Linked DNA regions of Homo sapiens: region 2 is linked to region 1. Evidence: promoter capture Hi-C in human tissues and cell types (Jung and others, 2019). All regions are on one chromosome and are shown on one strand. The core of a region is centred on a gene start or on the middle of the fragment in contact, and the rest is flanking DNA. Distances in the headings are between cores, read along the strand shown. Region 1 holds the start of APP (amyloid beta precursor protein). Region 2 overlaps LINC00158 (long intergenic non-protein coding RNA 158).

Region 1 (2,734 bases), core at 164-2,663:
AGTAAATGACATGAAGCGTATAAACAAATACTGCATGACAATAAATATTTGTCCTTATTTGTTGAGGACATCCAAAGGACATTCAGGGGCAAAAGTAATCCAAGAGTCAAGACTGAATGCCTAGTGCGGGAAAAGACACACAAGACAACATTTAGGGGAGCTGGTACAGAAATGACTTCCCAGGAAGGAAGTCTGTACCCCGCTGGCTGAGCCATCCTTCCCGGGCCTAGGCACCCTTGTCAGCGCAATGAGCAAGGGAGAGAAGGCAGGCTGCAGTGCAGCCCTCAGAAGGGCCAGAGCACTCCCTGGCTTCAGTCCTTCGCTCCAAGCCCTGTGTGGAGTGGGCTGTGGCTTGGTAACTAAATGCTACTTCAGGTCAAGAGCAGGGGATATATCTGGGCAGTTCTAGAGCATTCTAAACTATCTGGACACTAACTGGACAGTGGACGGTTTGTGTTTAATCCAGGAGAAAGTGGCATGGCAGAAGGTTCATTTCTATAATTCAGGACAGACACAATGAAGAACAAGGGCAGCGTTTGAGGTCAGAAGTCCTCATTTACGGGGGTCGAATACGAATGATCTCTCCTAATTTTTCCTTCTTCCCCAACTCAGATGGATGTTACATCCCTGCTTAACAACAAAAAAAGACCCCCCGCCCCGCAAAATCCACACTGACCACCCCCTTTAACAAAACAAAACCAAAAACAAACAAAAATATAAGAAAGAAACAAAACCCAAGCCCAGAACCCTGCTTTCAAGAAGAAGTAAATGGGTTGGCCGCTTCTTTGCCAGGTCCTGCGCCTTGCTCCTTTGGTTCGTTCTAAAGATAGAAATTCCAGGTTGCTCGTGCCTGCTTTTGACGTTGGGGGTTAAAAAATGAGGTTTTGCTGTCTCAACAAGCAAAGAAAATCCTATTTCCTTTAAGCTTCACTCGTTCTCATTCTCTTCCAGAAACGCCTGCCCCACCTCTCCAAACCGAGAGAAAAAACGAAATGCGGATAAAAACGCACCCTAGCAGCAGTCCTTTATACGACACCCCCGGGAGGCCTGCGGGGTCGGATGATTCAAGCTCACGGGGACGAGCAGGAGCGCTCTCGACTTTTCTAGAGCCTCAGCGTCCTAGGACTCACCTTTCCCTGATCCTGCACCGTCCCTCTCCTGGCCCCAGACTCTCCCTCCCACTGTTCACGAAGCCCAGGTGGGCCGTCGGCCGGGGAGCGGAGGGGGCGCGTGGGGTGCAGGCGGCGCCAAGGGCGCGTGCACCTGTGGGCGCGGGGCGCGAGGGCCCCTCCCGGCGCGAGCGGGCGCAGTTCCCCGGCGGCGCCGCTAGGGGTCTCTCTCGGGTGCCGAGCGGGGTGGGCCGGATCAGCTGACTCGCCTGGCTCTGAGCCCCGCCGCCGCGCTCGGGCTCCGTCAGTTTCCTCGGCAGCGGTAGGCGAGAGCACGCGGAGGAGCGTGCGCGGGGGCCCCGGGAGACGGCGGCGGTGGCGGCGCGGGCAGAGCAAGGACGCGGCGGATCCCACTCGCACAGCAGCGCACTCGGTGCCCCGCGCAGGGTCGCGATGCTGCCCGGTTTGGCACTGCTCCTGCTGGCCGCCTGGACGGCTCGGGCGCTGGAGGTGGGTGCCGCGCCTCGGAAGGCGGGGGGAGGCTGCACGGTGGGGACGCGATACCCCCCAAGACCTTAACCCAAGTCTTTAATGCAGAGAAGCCGGGGGTCCGTCAATGGGACCCCTCTCCTCTCCGCCCCCGCTTGCGGACGTCCAGCGCATCCCCGCTTTCGGCCCAGCCCTGCCCCAGGGAGTCGCGCTCCGGCCCGCTGAGAGGGAGCGGGCGAGGCGCTGGTCTCCCTGGTTCCGCGCCAGCCCGGGGCGAGAAGGGTAGGGGGCGACCCTGAGCCCAGACCCCGACTTAGTCCCTGCCTTGGAAGCGGGGGTCGGGGGAGGCGAGAGACATTCAGACAGGGGGGAAGGGGGAAGGAGCACGTGGGGAAAACCGAAAACGCAGCGTCCCTAAAGCCAGTCCTTCGCTCTTGAATCGTTGCCCTTTCCTTTCTCTTGGGCCCTGGGGAGGAGGAGGAGGAGTCGGGACAGCCCAGGAAGCTAGGAGCCCCTCGCTTTTCCCTGCGTTCTCCGCCTCGTTTCACCTTCCTCTCTCACCCCCATCCCCCTTCCTTGCTCCAACCTCTTTTCGCGGCTGCTGGCGGCGGCAGCCTGGGTGCGACCCTAGCCCGAGCCGGCGTCGGGGTCGCGCACCGCCTTCCACAGGCAAACTTTGTGCATGTCCGCGTCTCCCTTTTGTGTAACTTGCGAGAAATGGGAGGGGTCGGAGACCCATAGCCACCCCGCGCCTTCCCCAAGTCTGGACGTCCCGGGAGTTCGCTCGCACCCTAAGCTCTGTCTGAGAGGCAGAAGGTCCGCGGGAACAAAAGCCGCGACACCCCGCCCTCGCCGTGGGCCGAGCCGCGTTAGTCTCAGTGCGCCACCGAGGCTCCCGCCCGGCTCCCTTCCCGGGGCTGCGCGTCCGCCTGGGAGGGGGCAGAGACGCTGCCGGGGCTTCTGGCGGAGCCTCGGGGCCCCTCTGCTTCCCACCCTCGGATCACCTCCGAGGCTTAATTCTGTGCTGGGCTGTAAAGTCCTTGGCGGGGAGGAAATAAGGCGGAGAGTGGGATGTGCGTCTGGAAAGGGCAGTGGCGGATGGTGGGGAGGCACGGGCTCTGTCCTGTGCATCCAAG
Region 2 (2,734 bases), core at 62-2,561, 780 kb after region 1:
GAGTCTCTTGCTCTCGTAGCTAAAGCACTCCAAGAAATATGCACATAATTCTAAGTCAGTGGCAGTGGGAAGGGAGAAGTAGGTTTGCATTAGAGAGATCAGGAAAGTTGAGTGATCAGGATTTGGTAATAAATTGGGTGTGGCCGTTACAGAAGAGAGAAGAGGCAGAGCTGAGCCTGGGTCATGGTGTTTAAACTCTTGTTTAAAGCTAAAGATACATTTTTGCCAGAAAAATCCAGGTATGGACATTTTGCCTACAATATCAGGAGGCTCACAGAAGCTTTAGCCATATGTTAGAAACCACTCTGTAGAGGAAAATCCTAGAGGTTGGATAGGATGACCTGAAAGATTCCTTCTGCTTCCTCAATATTTCAATAGTTATAGAACCCAAATATCGGTATATTTTTGGGCCTACTGGTAGCTACAAGGAAGTCAGGAAGGGGAGCTGGTGCTTTTGTGAGGCACTAGGAAATGTAGGAGGGAAATGTATTTTGTTTTAGACCTGGAGGTTGAAGTGCTGGGAGGGCATTCTTGGGTAGATGTTGAGTGGGTTACCAAAGGCATACTTTGAGAAAGTGTTTAGAGCATTAGATCTGCACTGTTGAATATGGTAGCCATTGGGCACATGTGGCCATTGAAGACTGTGGCTAACAAAATGTGGCTAATCCTAACTGGGATATACTGTAAGTGTAATGTACATCCATTTCCAAGACAGTTAAAAAATGTAAAATATGTCAATTTAAGAATATTAGCTACATGTTGAAATCATAATATTTTGAATATATTCAGTTAAATAAAATATATGATTAAAATAAGTTCATCAGCTTCTCCTTACTTTTTAAATGTGGCTACTGGAAAATTTAAAAATGTGTAGTTTTTGTTTGCAGCTGACGTATTTCTGTTGGGTAGCACTGCTCAAGGTGGTGTTTGGAGGTATTATCAGGGACAACTTGGGAACATTTGAGCTCTCTGGGAAGAGGATATCCAGAGAGAAAAGCAGAAGGTTGAAAATGTACTTGTGGAGCATGTCTACATTCATAGGTCTAGAATGAAGAGGAGGAGACTGGAAAGGAGCTGTGGGATAAGGCCAGAGAAGGGGAAGTAGATGACATCACAGGAATGTGGTGAAGAAGGGGCATTAGGAAAGAAATGGATAGTGATTAGGATTATGCAAAGTAATTTGGCCTTTGTTCTATTGCTATTGGAGAGCATATGGAGGTTTTTTTCCCAGAAAGTAAAATGATCAAATTTAAATTTTAAGAAGATGATTTTGGCAAGGAAATAATGAACCAATTGGATTGACAGAGAAGCTGAAGGTCAGGTGGATAGCTAGAAAGTCAGGGAATAATAACAACCAAAAAGCCCTTAGGCATCTAGAAAGCTGAGCAGAAAAGAATTGTTTTGACTTTGAGAAAGAACTTTTTATTTTATTTTCTTGCCTTGAAAAATGAGGTGTTTTTGAACAGTGTGATTTTGGTAATTTAAAGCCTGTGTCTCTGTTTATAGAATCCAGGAAAATGGGTTGCCATAAAAATCAGTGTCACAGATGATTAAAGTTGTTTTGTGTGGGAAAAATAGAAGGCTATAAAGAAACTAAAGACACAAAAGTTATAGGATTTCTAAGAAACAAAGGTTGTCTTTTTGTATAATTGTCTCATGTAGAGAAAACAGAAAAGAAGATTATTCCCCACCCTTAAGAACATGAAAGTAGAAAAGAATGGTTTCTAAAAAGGGTTTTCCTTGAGACTCTGCCACCATAACTTGTGACCTTTTAAGGTATTTCTAAGTATTTACAAATTGAGCATACTATGTCCTAGAATGTTCTTTGAGCAGAAATTTTGGTACATAAAATTATTTATTTGGAGTTTGGTTTAAGGCAAAGAACAGGTTGAAATATATGAAAGTACAAAATTCAGAGAATTAAGTGAAGATGAGCTGAATATTCTGAAGGTTGTGTTAGTCCATTTTCATACTGCTATGAAGAAATACCTGAGACTGGGTAATTTTCTTAAAAAAAGAGGTTTAATGGACTCACAATTCCACATGGCTGTGGAACTGTAATGCCTCACGATCATGGCGGAAAGCGAAGGAGGAGCAAAGGCACATCTTACATGGTGGCAGGCAACAGAGCGTGTGCAGGGGAACTGCCTTTTATAAAACCATCGGATCTCGTGAGATGTATTCACTATCAGGAGAACAGCACGGGAAAAATCCACGACCATGATTAAATTACCTCCCACTGGGTCCCTCCCTTGGCATGTGGGGATTATGGAAGTTACAATTCAAGATAAGATTTGGATGGGGACACAGCCAAACCATATCAAAGGTATTTGGATCCTGTTTAAATATATGTTATAAAGTCTTTGCTAGTTTAAAGGGAAAAGAGAAAAAACTGATGGCAAAAGGAAGCCGATGAAAGGGGCCATATGAGGAGACTAACCAAAAGGAAATAGTCAATTAAAGACATTTGGAAAATTTACCTAGATGGAGTACTATAGGATTTGGACACTCTGCTGGATACTGAATACACAGGATTAGGATAAAATCAATGCTGTTGAAGAATAACTGTAATATGCAGCAGCTAACATTTATTAAGCATTTATTATATACTCATTTATGTATTACAACAGCCTGACGAAGTAGGTATTATCTCAATGCTACAGATGGTGCAGTGAGATTAGGTAACTTGTCCAAGGTTACACAGGTAGCCAGTGAGCCCACTATAACATGCTGT

The links. Contacts are between HindIII fragments. The study calls those that stand out against the background at their distance.
Region 2: a contact is called between a fragment that was not itself captured here and the fragment with the promoter of APP in region 1, in 1 of the 25 tissues and cell types used here (lymphoblastoid cells).

Annotation. Positions count from the first base shown.
Region 1 is chr21:26,169,449-26,172,182 of GRCh38, reverse strand. It overlaps APP (amyloid beta precursor protein), which reads left to right and starts at 1,413. Exons shown (of 18, transcript NM_000484.4): 1 at 1,413-1,619. The coding sequence starts at 1,563. APP-DT (APP divergent transcript) reads right to left here and starts at 1,316. Exons shown (of 4, transcript NR_186396.1): 1 at 1,131-1,316. RefSeq lists silencers at 1,061-1,890, 2,391-2,660 and enhancers at 1,678-2,202, 2,701-2,734. The HindIII fragment of the contact is 4,835 bases long and covers 1-2,734 here.
Region 2 is chr21:25,389,271-25,392,004 of GRCh38, reverse strand. All of the region lies in intron 4 of LINC00158 (long intergenic non-protein coding RNA 158), which reads left to right. Among named protein-coding and RNA genes, the nearest start is that of LINC00158, 41 kb to the left of the region's middle. The HindIII fragment of the contact is 3,867 bases long and covers 1-2,734 here.